2 separate regions of the Homo sapiens genome follow, and region 1 is linked to region 2. The links are contacts of gene promoters, found by promoter capture Hi-C in blood cells and fetal thymus (Javierre and others, 2016). All regions are on one chromosome and are shown on one strand. Each heading gives the region's core, a stretch centred on a gene start or on the middle of the fragment in contact. The rest is flanking DNA. Distances are from core to core; before and after follow the strand shown.

Region 1 (6,422 bases), core at 928-3,427, 2.2 Mb before region 2:
GATGGATACGATGCCAGGCAGTAGGATGAAGACAGATGGGGAAACTGCCTACCTTAGGTCAGGAGTTTGAGAACAGCCTGGCCAACATGGTGAAGCTCCATTTCTACTAAAAGTACAAAAATTAGCCGGGTGTGATGGCGTGTGCCTGTAATCCCAAGCTACTCCAGAGTCTGAGGTGGGAGGATCGCTTGAACCCGGGAGGTGGAGGTTGCAGTGAGTCGAGATTGAACCACTGCAAACCAGCCTGGGCAATAGAGAGAGACTCCATCTCAAAAAAAAAAAAAAAAAAAAGTCAGACCAACCCACGGGGAGGCAGAGGGTAGGTGAGGGGGGTGTGGCTGGGTTTACGGTGGTGCACTCATAGAGTCGGCTTGGGAACAGGGAGCTGTGTGTGTGTGGAAGTTAAAAGATAGGCTTTGGAGGGACCTGGCTTTAAATCCCAGCTTTGCTGTGTGACCTTGGACAACCTGCTTACCCTTTGTGATCTCATATGCAAATGGGGGTGATAATGCATACTTCACAAATTGTGAGGATTGAATGAGACAGCATATAGAAAGTACTAAATTTAGTGATTGGCAACACACTAAAAAATAACTCTATACACCCAGCACCCTAGACCAGAAGGCATTGTGCTGACTCCCAGAATGCACTAGAAAGCAGTCTGCTTCTTCCCTTCCTGCCCTTCCTCTCCTCTCCTCTGTTCTCCTTTCCTCTGTTCTCTCCTTTTTTCTCTCCTCCCCTGCCCACCCTATCCCTCTTCCCTTCCCCTTCCTCTCTCACTCTCCTCTCCCCTGATTCCAGCCCATTTAGTATCTAGGTGACTCTATCCCAAGCTTCTTCTCCTGGTGCCTTTGTCCCCATCTCTCCAAGCCACCTTGATTGTCTCCTCTACCTGACAGGGTCACCCTGCTGGCTGCAGGCTGGAGGGATTTATAGCAATTCCCTCCCTCCTTGCCTGCACGGGGCTACCAGACAGCCGGAAGATATGTGGGTTGGACACAGTGGGGCCCTGGGAGAGGCAAATAAATACATCAAGTTCCCAGCTGAGTCTGGAGATAAGGACGCAGGAAGATGGGGCTGCAGGATTCACAGATGCTGCACTGCACGGGGTCACTCTTCATAGCCTGATTCCTCTGGCTTCCCCAGGAAAGTCTATTTGGGGCACTTTGAAGAGGACACAGAAGAGGACAGCACCTGAGCAATCTTTTCCTGGGAGGCGCTGCACTGAGGCACCCTTCCTCAGCTTGGATTTGGTAGGGACAGGCTTGAGGAGTGAGAATGTGACAGACCCAACCCCAAGATGAGGCAGGAAGGAGGGAAATTGAGCCCCACAGCACAGGAGGGGAAACTGAGGCTGAGAAGGGAGAAAGACTTCCAAAGTCTCACAGGAAGTCAGTGAAGAGAAGTTACAGTCCCCTAACCCCTGATCTACCACTTTAGACCCCCTTACACTGAATTGTGCCTGGCTTCCCCCAGACTTGGCCATTTGAACTGGCCTTGCCTGGGTACAGAATTCCAGGTATCTCTGCAACATGCCAGGATCCACCTCAGGGAGGGTTCTCCTCCCTCCAGATCTCTGCCCCAGCCAGCTGCCTGATGAGATGCCCTCTCTATGGGGCCTGATTTGGGGTCAGCATCCTATTATAGATAACTCAAGGGTACAACATCAGTCTCTCCCACACATGGATGGGATTCTGTTCTAGTGCCCGTGGGCAATGGAGTGGGGGTACGGGGGACTAACGCAGGAGACCTGAAGTGGGGGCGCCTGTCCCATCCACCCCAGAGACAGCTGCCCTTGCCACTGTCGAGGCCACACCTGCCCAAGAGCCTCAAGGGCCTCCTAATCAGCAAGCTCACCCACAGCCACCAGGCTTGGCACGTCCTTGACCCAGACTGCCCAGATAGGCTGGGGACATTTCCCATTCCCAACTGCTCTGTGACCTCTCTTTGGCCTCTGTCTCCCTCCCAGTAAAGTGAAAGGGATAGAGGACCTCCAGGCCCCAAACTCTGATGCTGGGTGACTCTCTGATCCTTGAAGGCTGTCATTGCATCTCCCTAAGGTGGGTGCAGACTTCACAGAGTCTTTCCAGGCTACTAGAGCTGATTGCCTACAGGCAAGGAGAGGGGAAAGTGCTTGGGAGTCCCATCCCCCAGGGGCAGCCCTTGGCCAATGTCTGACTGCTGTGCATCTGTGGAAGTGAGCTTCCCTGCCTCTCATTGGGACAAACAGGATTCATTTTCATTCTGGAGCTTCCTGGGATCAGTCCAACATTGAGACTGTGCCTGAAATCACACCTTTGCTTAGCTTCTTCCTCTTCCTTTCCTACTTCCCCTTCTCTCTTCTGGTTGTTTTTCGCTTGGGCAGTTTTTTAAACAGCCACCTGCACACAAAACATTGTCTCAGCTCTGCTTCTGGGAAGCCACTTTCAAGAGTAAATGAAAACAGTCTATTGAAAGCAAGAGACTGAAGGTCTGAGGGAAAAGTCAGTTTTATTTCAGCCCACCAAGTGCCCTCCCTGTGCTGTTCTGGGCTTTGATGGGGACAGTGGAGGGGAAGGCCCTGCGCAGCCCCCCAACCCCAGGAGCTTTGAGTCTGGGGGATGGAGGAGGAGGAGGAGACTCTGGGCCAGCCCTCCTGCGGTCTGCAGGAGGCCACAGGAGGTGGTGGGGGGTTCTCTGAATGTGTGTTTATTGTGGCCTTTCTGTGTCCTGTGATGGCCCCACGGAATGGAGGACTGAGAGTTGCAGAGCAGGAAGGGGTGGCAGCCTTGTTCTTTCCTGGTCAATGTGCCAGGCTCCCAAAATATTCAGTGATCAGATTTTAACCTCAAATAGCAGTGCCCCAACCGCCCCTGAATCTTGCTATGGAAAGAGCCTTTGGTAAGTGTTTTGAAGCAGGAAGACTCCCTCTGCCCACAGAGCAGTGCACAGCAGTTTGGGGGAGGGGCTAGCTCCTGGGACCCAAGCGGGCCTCAAGAGATGAGGCGGGAGGCGGGTTGCAGTGTGATGGGAGGGGAGACACAGAAATTGCCAAGGGCCATGAGGAAGAGAGGAAGCCACAACCCCAGGCTCCCAAGGAGGGTGTCTTCCTGCAGGAAGCCCTGTCAGATGGCAGCCTGCGGCCCAAAAGCCCCAACTCAACCTGCAAACTGGCTTCTTCTAAGGCCACAGCACCCAAGGGCCTCAAGACACACATCTAGCCCATTCCCCTACCATTGCATGGGTGGAAACCTAGAAGGAGAGAGGGCAAGGAGTTGCTTAAGACCACTTAGAGAGTTTGTGAAGCTGGAGTGAGCTTTCAGGTTGTGGAGCTCCAAGCCCAGTGTGGTCTGCCCCACTTTGCACTGCCCCACATTTTTCCTAAGACCAAGGTAGAATTATTCCTCCTGTTTTCCACCTCAACAGTAAAAGTGCCTCTCTTCTCTGCCATGGGACTGGGAGACATGTTCAGGATGTGAAGTCATATAGGGACATCTTTGAGTTCATAAACATCTCCTGTTCATAAATATCCGACTAAAGACTGAAGCTTCCACTGCTCCCAAAATAGCTTTGGATCCCAGCACAGGCATTTCCAAGAACAGATTTTTATCCTTTCAAGAATTCCGTGAAAGAGCTGGGTGCGATGTGTGCCTCTAGGCACAGCTACTTGGGAGGATGAGGCAGGAGGATCACTTGAGCCCAGGATTTGAGGCCAGCTGGACAATACAGTTTGATCCTCAGCCCAAATAAATAAATAAGTATAAAAATAAATCAATCGATCCAAGAATTCTGTGAAAGCAAAGAATCCTCTGGTTTGTATGCCTACCAGAGTTTCCTGAAGTTGGTCACACACACTGCCCTGACCCTGACTGTGATCTCAGACTGTGGATATAGATTGGTCTAAACTCCAGATAAGGAAGTATCTAGTATGGTCCATTATAATCCTGGTCATTCTCATTTCAATTCATTTTGATACAATATTAGGCTACTCTGAACATGCAATTCCCCAATCCTTCTATTTAAAAGGGATTTCTTGCTTGTAGTGAGCCTTGGGATTGACTCCTCTATAGCCATATCAGGGCCAGATAATTATTCTGAACCAATCAGTTTCATCCCCTTCACCAGTGACTGGTTCAGAGATAAACAGTCCTATGACAATAGGTGTCAAGACCCAGGGGAGAGGCTGTGGCTTCGGAAAAGAGAAGCCTGTCTTTCTAACCCACTAGTCTGTTAACATTACGTTTGTGGCTGGGCACAGTGGCTTACACCTGTAATTTTCAGCACTTTGGGAGGCTGAGGCGGAAGGATCACTTGAGGTCAAGAGTTTGAGACCAGCCTAGCCAACATGGTGAAACCCTGTCTCTACTAAAAATACAAAAACTAGCGGGGTGTGGTGGCACGCACCTGTAATCCAAGCAACTCGGGAGGCCGAGGCAGGAGAATCACTTGAACCCAGGAAGTGGAGGTTGCAGTGAGCCAAAATTGTGCCACCGCACTTCAGCCTGAGTAACAAGAGTGAGACTCCATCTAAAAAGAAAAAAAAACAAAAAACACAATAGGTATGTTTCCTTGGTGGCTCCGGAAGCCCTCCAGTGACACCAAGGCACCAAGGGACCCAGTCCTTGGGCTGGAAGCCCTATTAAGGGTGGCAGAGGGGAGAGATGAAAGAACTTGCAACTGCTGATGTCACTGAGCCGCTGAATCAACAGCCGGGAAGCCAGCCTTGCTTCCTGCTTTGTGAGACGATACACTTAATACTTTCCATCCTTGGGGGTGGGAATCTTGTTATTTGCCGATGGAAATATTACACATCATCCCCAGCCCCCACTCCCCTGCCTCACCCGGCCCTACCCTTTACCATGGCAAGTCCTGCCACGGAGGAGCTGGCTGCCTCAGAAAATCTCTTGGGGAAACCAGTCCTGCCTGAATTGGGGTGGGATTGCCAAGCATTTTGCATCCCGCCCCCCTTACTTGTTTTTTGGTGTTTTTTTGTTTTGTTTTTTGTTTTCGTTTTTGTTTTTGTTTTGAGACAGAGTCTCACTCTGTTGCCCAGGCTGGAGTGCAGTGGTGTGATCATGGCTTATGGCTGCCTCGACCTCCTGGGCTCAAGCGATCCTCTGGTCTCAGTCTCCCTCCAGAGTAGCTGGGACCACAGTTGTGTGCCACCACGCCCAACTAATTTAAAAAAAATGTAGAGATGAGGTCTGACTATGTTGCCCAAGCTGGTCTTAAACTCCTGGGCTCAAATATTCCTTCTATCTTGGCATCCCAAAGTGCTGGGATTACAGGCATGAGCCATCTTGCTCAGCCATGTTCCCCTTTGAATGCAGGAGTATCGCCTCTTCCAGGCAGGAGTTCCTCTTATTCAGTGAGACAAGCACAGACCCAGATAATTACATGAGCTGCCACTGGAAGAGCTGCTGTTAATTTTGATGGCAATAAAAGGCCTTGCCAGTACGTTAAGCTAATTTCATGAAAATGCTGGGAGGAGGGTCATGGGCTGGATCCCAGATTATTAATAATGTCGAGCTTCATTTGAACCATTCAGAAAATTCCTCTCAGTTGCCTCCAGCAAACTGCAACAGGTTGCTACTTTCCTCTGAAATCAACAGTCTTCTCATAGGCAAATGTGGATTTTTTTGTTTTTCCCTAGAAAATAATTAAAGTCACAAAGTCCAATAAATACTTAAACAGAATGTAGTTTTAATTAAAAACCTTCCACCAAGTCTGCAGTTGCGGGTCTCTCTTTGCAAACAGGCATGCTGACAAGCATCAGTCTAAGTATCTGAAACTAGAAACCTTTACAAATAATAATAGTAAATCTGGTTTCTACATATACCCATGGTGTGTGTGTGTGCAAAGGGGGTGGTGGTGGTGAAGAGGTCTGGGGGCAGAGCCAAGGTGCTCCCCTGTGGAGGAGGCAGGACACAAGCCTGTAGGGGTGTGTGCAGCAGAACCTTTTATCAAACTTGTGTCCCACTCTGCAAGGCAATAATAATGGCTAATTCAGCTATTATATAAAAAACGTATCTCAAGTACTGAGCACTAAGTGTCAGGTACTAAGTGCTTTGCGTACATTGATTCATTTAATCCTCAAGGTGACCGAAAAGCATAGGTATTTTTTTTTTTTTTTTTTTTTTTTTGAGACAGAGTCTCGCTCTGTCGCCCAGGCCGGAATGCAGTGGCACTATCTCGGCTCACTGCAACCTCTGCCTCCCGAGATTCTCCTGCCTCAGCCTCCTGAGTAGCTGGGATTACAGGCATGCACCACCACGCCCGGCTAATTTTTGTATTTTTAGCAGAGACGAGGTTTCACCATGTTGGTCAGGCTGGTCTCGAACTCCTGACCTTGTGATCCGCCCGCCTGGGCCTCCCAAAGTGCTGGGATTATTACAGGTGTGAGCCACCGCGCCTGGTCAGTACTCTTATTTATGCCTTTTTTT
Region 2 (6,357 bases), core at 230-2,729:
CGGGGCCTCGCCCTAGCCTTCTGCAAAGCCTCGGCCTGCGCCCTCGGCTGCATCCGTTTCGACGCCAACCAACCTCATGCTCTTAGTAGAACGGCAGTAGCGACCGCGCCCTCAGGCCCACAAGCCCGAAGGTCTGGGCAGGGTCTGGAATGGCGGTGGAGACACTTTATCCGCAGGCGTTTCACCTCGCGCCCCACCCAGGCGCACACCAAGTTCTTGGTACTCCTTTTAATGGGAAAACAAGAACAGACACCATGGTTGGATAAATGTTATTTATAATTCATGGGCCGGTCTTTGAACCCTTTCAAACAAAACCCACAGCGATTTCTTTGAAAGAATGCCTGGACTGTGCTCAGAGCTCTCAGATTTTCTCAGGACCAACGAGCCGCCGCCTCGCAGATACCACTGTAAATTACCCAGCGCCTTACGTTCGTTTCTGATTATTTGCATTGCAGTGGGTTTGTTAATGAAGGACAAGAGTTTAGAAAAATCTTTTATTTTGGAAGTTGGACACGCAATCGACCCCAGCAGTGTTCCTAAAAGGAGCTATGCCATTTGGATGGGGGAAAAATGAGGGGGCGGGGAAGTCCATGTTACATTTAAAACAACAACAGCAACAAATTAAAAGCAAAACAAAACAACAAAAAAAAGGAAGTGGAGCAGGAGGAGGAGGTGGTGGTGGAGGAGAGGGAGGAGGGGCAGCAGCAGCGGCAGCAGCAGCAAGGATGGAGTCAGGACCCGTCCCAGTCCCGGGTGAGCGCTTTTGGATCTGGGTTCTGGCTCAACCCACGTAATGCCCCAATCTAAAGTTTTCTACGTGTGTGTGGATAGGAAAGTCTAAATAGAGTTTATCAGAACCCAGGTGGTCATTCTCTACACTCTCTCTAGCTTGGACCCGAAGAACAAAGGCACATGAGAGGAGAAAGGTGACCAGCTGGACGATGACGGTCACGTCCAAACGGATCCCCCTTGTCCTCGGCTCTCTCGTCCTGAGAGTGGGTTTAATTTTTTTTTTTTTAATTTATATAAGAAGGGAGCTCTTAAAGGAGAGCCATCTCCACCCTCAGGTATCCATCACCCAGCTCCAGCGCGCCTGGGAAAACCGCCCCGAAAGTCCAAGAGGAAGCTCAGAGTTGTAACGGCCGCGGAGCCAGCTCGGCGGTGACGCAAGGTCCAGTCCAGATTGCCAGGCCCGGGGCATGAGAGAGGATCCTTGTAGGTTTCGGAGGTGGGGGGGCTGCACTCCATTGTTCACTCCGGGCCAATCAGGGTTGGCCCACTTCCTCCCAGCCAATCTCCCTTCACCCCCAGCCTCCAACCCAACCCACCCCGCCCATCAGCCCCTGGATCCCCATCACCTCCCCCGCATCCCCGGCAGTTCTGGGGAAGCTTCGTGACGCCACAGGTCCCGCCCCCAGCTCCGGCCCGGGGCTAGTGCGTGTTGACGTCATGCTGCGTGCGGGCCGGTGCGGAATCGCTCCTTCAACTCCGCGGGGCAGTAGGAGTTAGTTAGCAAAGAGCCGAGGCCGGGCGCGCGACCCTCGTCCTTCTGCCCCTGGCCGCACACTTTGCGCACATCTCTTTTTCTGCATGGTGGATATTATTTTTCATTATCCTTTTCTGGGTGCTATGGGTGATCATTCCAAGAGTAAGTATTTCTGTGTGTGTGTGGGGTGGGGTGTGTGTGTATGCTTAATATGCAAAATTTCTAATGCAGAAAAATGTTTAGTGGATTCTACAAGTGGCTTCTATTTGTCAGAATAGTTTAGGAGAGGAAAAACGAATGCATGTCTCCTGCAGGACTGCTTATCTTTGGGAATCCTGTTGTTTTATTTTATAAGTAAACACTATTTCTCAAGCCGGCTAGGATGACTTCGGGCTGCGAAATCTGCTTCTGTTTTGCGCAAAGGCAATTAGGTTTGATTTAGGGATGTGGGTTTTTTTTTTTTTGGTTGTTGTTTGTTTGCCTTTCGGTTTTTCAAAGCTAGGAAGCTTTCTTTCGCTTGCTCTGGGATATTTAAACTAAGAAATGTCTGAGAGGATGAGCGGGGACTGCCGAAAGACGATGTGTCTGTGTTGGGATAGGAGGCAGCCGCTGTGAGTGGGAGTGTGTGAGCGGAAATGCCAGGACAGCACCGTTAGGTGTTGATATCCAGGCGTCCGCAGTGCCTGTGTATTTACTCTCTTCTTAGTTTCGTGTTTGCGTTTAGTTTCAAGACACGTCGACAAAACGACTGTCATTAATGAATGTAATAACGAAATATTTGGGGTGGGGGACAGAAGAAACCTTCAGCAATCCACAAGATACTGGTTTTTCGTTTCCAATGCCCTGGACCTTTAGAGAGCTCATCATCTTTCCTTATGGTCGCAAGTCTTGAAAGAAAGAGCAAGAGAGCGAGCGGGTTGGGTTGGGGCTGGAGTAGCCGAGGCCGGCCTGGGTCCGGGCAGTCAGGCCTGACGCGGCCCCGCGCCCTTCCCCGGCAGAGAAGCCCGGGACGGCCATGTGCGTGGGCTGCGGGAGTCAGATCCACGACCAGTTTATCCTGCGGGTGTCGCCCGACCTCGAGTGGCACGCGGCCTGCCTCAAGTGTGCCGAGTGCAGCCAGTACCTGGACGAGACGTGCACGTGCTTCGTGAGAGACGGGAAGACCTACTGCAAGCGGGACTATGTCAGGTGAGGCCGGCGGGAACGCGGGCTGGGCCACCGCGCGCAGGGGCCGGGGCCGGGACTGGGGATGGCGGCCTGCCCGCGCGCCCCGGCCCTGCCCAGGGAGAAGGCCATCCGCATCCCGCACGGGTGCCGCAGCGCTCCCCCGGGCCCGGGAATGCCCGCAGGCGGGTCACCGCAGTCTCCTGGTGGCCACAAAGTGTCCTGGGCGCGCGCCGGAGCCGTAGCAGCCAGGGAGATGAGGGCGGCCGCAGGCCCAGCGCTGACACCGCCGCACCTTGGGCCCGCAGGCTGTTCGGCATCAAGTGCGCCAAGTGCCAGGTGGGCTTCAGCAGCAGCGACCTGGTGATGAGGGCGCGGGACAGCGTGTACCACATCGAGTGCTTCCGCTGCTCCGTGTGCAGCCGCCAGCTGCTGCCTGGGGACGAGTTCTCGCTGCGGGAGCACGAGCTGCTCTGCCGCGCCGACCACGGCCTCCTGCTCGAGCGCGCCGCGGCCGGCAGCCCGCGCAGCCCCGGCCCGCTTCCCGGCGCCCGCGGCCTGCATCTGCCCGGTAAGCGCGCCGGGGCCTGTGCCGGGGTGAGCGGGGTGTATGTGCGTGCGTGTGTGTAGGGGTACGCTTGTGTCCCTAACGAGAAGTTGTCAGTTGTGTGTGGTTCCGTCTGCCGGGATAGTGTTTTTCTGTATCAGTGCGGAACTGTGTGCTGGGAACAAGGCTGTGTGTATTCTCGTGTGCTCGGGAGAAACTGCGTGTGTATGAGTGTGTGAGCACGGAGAATTGTGCAGAATCGTGTTCTCCATGACCAGGAACATGCAGGGCACAGTGCTAGGAGCAGAAGAGTGGATGACAACAGGGAATCTTAAGTGGTGTCCGTCTTGGGGCTTGTATTAGGAATTTCTTGGAGGAATATGTGTTATTGTCAGAGGGTAAGGTTTGCCCAGGGGTATGTGTGTAAGTAACACAGCTCCAAACTGGGAGCTGGGCAGGAGCTTGGTCAGCCAGGAGCCAAGAACCCAACAAAGAGGGGTTTTTGCCATCTTGTTTTGAGGCCCAGTTTGATGAACAATTTAGCCAGGTTCTTCTGGGGGAGGGGGAGTATCAATGCATAGTGGACTGTCACTGGAATATTCTGGGTCCTAATCAGCAGCTGCCCAGAGATGGGGTCTGAGTGTATAATGGGCAGGTACGGCTGAACAGAAACAGAGGTGCCTCCACCCCAGGCAAGGCAGTTTCCCCCAGGTAGCCATAGGCCTGCAGCACAGATCCGTAGACCAGGCTGGGCCTCTGGGTGCTGTGTGGCCTTGCCCCGCTCCTCCCCTCTCTGGATCTTCACTTCCTCCCTATAGAAAGAGGAAACTGGGCTGGATGGGCTATTTGTAAATATTTGTCCAGACCTAGAAATTCGTAGAGGGGAACATAAACCGAAATGGTGCAGTACAGATCCACGGTATATATGGGTCGGGATCAAATGGAGATGTGAAATGGGAGCAAGCGGGTATTCAGTGCACCCCCATCTGGGATCTCGGAGAGGCTCCCCTTTGTTTGTTTCGGGCTTCAGGGTGCAGGCTCTGGAATCAGTCACTGTTTCCCCGGGATGGAGAGAACCTGGGGCCAAGCGAGGAGAGTGCCAGCGGCTGCTCAGCACCTTGGTCGGTGGGAGGCCACTGGGCTGGGGAACCTGGAGCCTTGAGGAAGGAGACAGGGGCCGAAGCCCAAGGGCGGGCAGGAAGGAACTGTTGCAAGCCCTGGAGGCCCGTCCATAACCGTGGATGAGTCTTCTACACATGTGGCCTGGCCCTGTCCAAATGGGCTCTGAAGGAGGGGAAGGGCCCTCGTAGGCCCCCGGCATATTCGCACCTCCCACCCAGTCCCCTGGGCAGCGCCTCGCCCTGGGTCCACGTCGGTCCCTTTCCCTCTCCAGAGTCCTGGGCAAGCCTCTTTCCTCTTCCTCTGAAACTCCGACTTCTTCCGGAGGGCTTCGCTCGTTCCGAGGGTCCTGCGACTGGAGGAGGCACATCCCTGAGCAGCCACTCCCTCCCCGCAGCGGCCTGTCGCCGAGCTCCCGCGCCCTGCTTGAGCTCGGGAGAGATCGCTGCGGGGCAGTCCGGCCCGGGAGCGAGAGAAAGAACGAAAATGCACAGCTCTCTCCGAGTAAGGCGAACAGATGGAGAGGAAGACGAACAATTAAACGAAACAAACAGAATAAAACAGAAACGAAATCGGGCCCCGGGGGGCTGGGCCACCCGGAGGTTGGGCTCGGGGCGGGTGGGTGGCGGCCCCTCGCTAACCTCTGGCCTCACCCTGTCCTGGCAGACGCTGGGTCGGGCCGGCAGCCCGCGTTGCGCCCGCACGTGCACAAGCAGACGGAGAAGACGACCCGCGTGCGGACTGTGCTGAACGAGAAGCAGCTGCACACTCTGCGGACCTGCTACGCCGCCAACCCGCGGCCCGACGCTCTCATGAAGGAGCAGCTGGTGGAGATGACCGGCCTGAGCCCGCGGGTCATCCGCGTCTGGTTCCAGAACAAGCGCTGCAAGGACAAGAAGAAATCCATTCTCATGAAGCAGCTGCAGCAGCAGCAGCACAGCGACAAGACGGTGAGCAGCCGCTGGGCCGGAGGCTCGAGTCGGGTGGGGGCTGCGCTTCCGCCGCGGTATCTGCGTGCCCTTTTCTGGGCGAGCCCTGGGAGATCCAGGGAGAACTGGGCGCTCCAGATGGTGTATGTCTGTACCTTCACAGCAAGGCTTCCCTTGGATTTGAGGCTTCCTATTTTGTCTGGGATCGGGGTTTCTCCTTGTCCCAGTGGCAGCCCCGCGTTGCGGGTTCCGGGCGCTGCGCGGAGCCCAAGGCTGCATGGCAGTGTGCAGCGCCCGCCAGTCGGGCTGGTGGGTTGTGCACTCCGTCGGCAGCTGCAGAAAGGTGGGAGTGCAGGTCTTGCCTTTCCTCACCGGGCGGTTGGCTTCCAGCACCGAGGCTGACCTATCGTGGCAAGTTTGCGGCCCCCGCAGATCCCCAGTGGAGAAAGAGGGCTCTTCCGATGCGATCGAGTGTGCGCCTCCCCGCAAAGCAATGCAGACCCTAAATCACTCAAGGCCTGGAGCTCCAGTCTCAAAGGTGGCAGAAAAGGCCAGACCTAACTCGAGCACCTACTGCCTTCTGCTTGCCCCGCAGAGCCTTCAGGGACTGACTGGGACGCCCCTGGTGGCGGGCAGTCCCATCCGCCATGAGAACGCCGTGCAGGGCAGCGCAGTGGAGGTGCAGACGTACCAGCCGCCGTGGAAGGCGCTCAGCGAGTTTGCCCTCCAGAGCGACCTGGACCAACCCGCCTTCCAACAGCTGGTGAGGCCCTGCCCTACCCGCCCCGACCTCGGGACTCTGCGGGTTGGGGATTTAGCCACTTAGCCTGGCAGAGAGGGGAGGGGGTGGCCTTGGGCTGAGGGGCTGGGTACAGCCCTAGGCGGTGGGGGAGGGGGAACAGTGGCGGGCTCTGAAACCTCACCTCGGCCCATTACGCGCCCTAAACCAGGTCTCCCTGGATTAAAGTGCTCACAAGAGAGGTCGCAGGATTAACCAACCCGCTCCCCCGCCCTAATCCCCCCCTCGTGCGCCTGGGGACCTGGCCTCCTTCTCCGCAGGGCTTGCTCTCAGCTGGCGGCCGGTCCCCAAGGGACACTTTCCGACTCGGAGC

Evidence for each region. Contacts are between HindIII fragments. The CHiCAGO score rates a contact against its expected background, and 5 or more counts as called.
Region 1: a contact is called between a fragment that was not itself captured here and the fragment with the promoter of ISL2 in region 2, in 2 of 17 cell types (total B cells and naive B cells). The highest score is 7.4, in total B cells.

Annotation. Positions count from the first base shown.
Region 1 is chr15:74,120,251-74,126,672 of GRCh38, forward strand. It overlaps LOC283731 (a long non-coding RNA gene), which reads right to left. Exons shown (of 3, transcript NR_152622.1): 3 at 6,123-6,422. It also overlaps a transcript of ISLR2 not described here. Among named protein-coding and RNA genes, the nearest start is that of ISLR2, 7.1 kb to the right of the region's middle. RefSeq lists enhancers at 2,353-2,959, 2,665-2,714. The HindIII fragment of the contact is 2,693 bases long and covers 832-3,524 here.
Region 2 is chr15:76,335,294-76,341,650 of GRCh38, forward strand. ISL2 (ISL LIM homeobox 2) reads left to right here and starts at 1,480. Exons shown (of 6, transcript NM_145805.3): 1 at 1,480-1,648; 2 at 2,485-2,674; 3 at 2,959-3,221; 4 at 4,983-5,266; 5 at 5,841-6,008. The coding sequence starts at 1,591. RefSeq lists enhancers at 1,215-1,509, 1,321-1,820, 1,514-1,563, 1,989-2,800, 4,348-4,417 and 2 more. The HindIII fragment of the contact is 603 bases long and covers 1,388-1,990 here.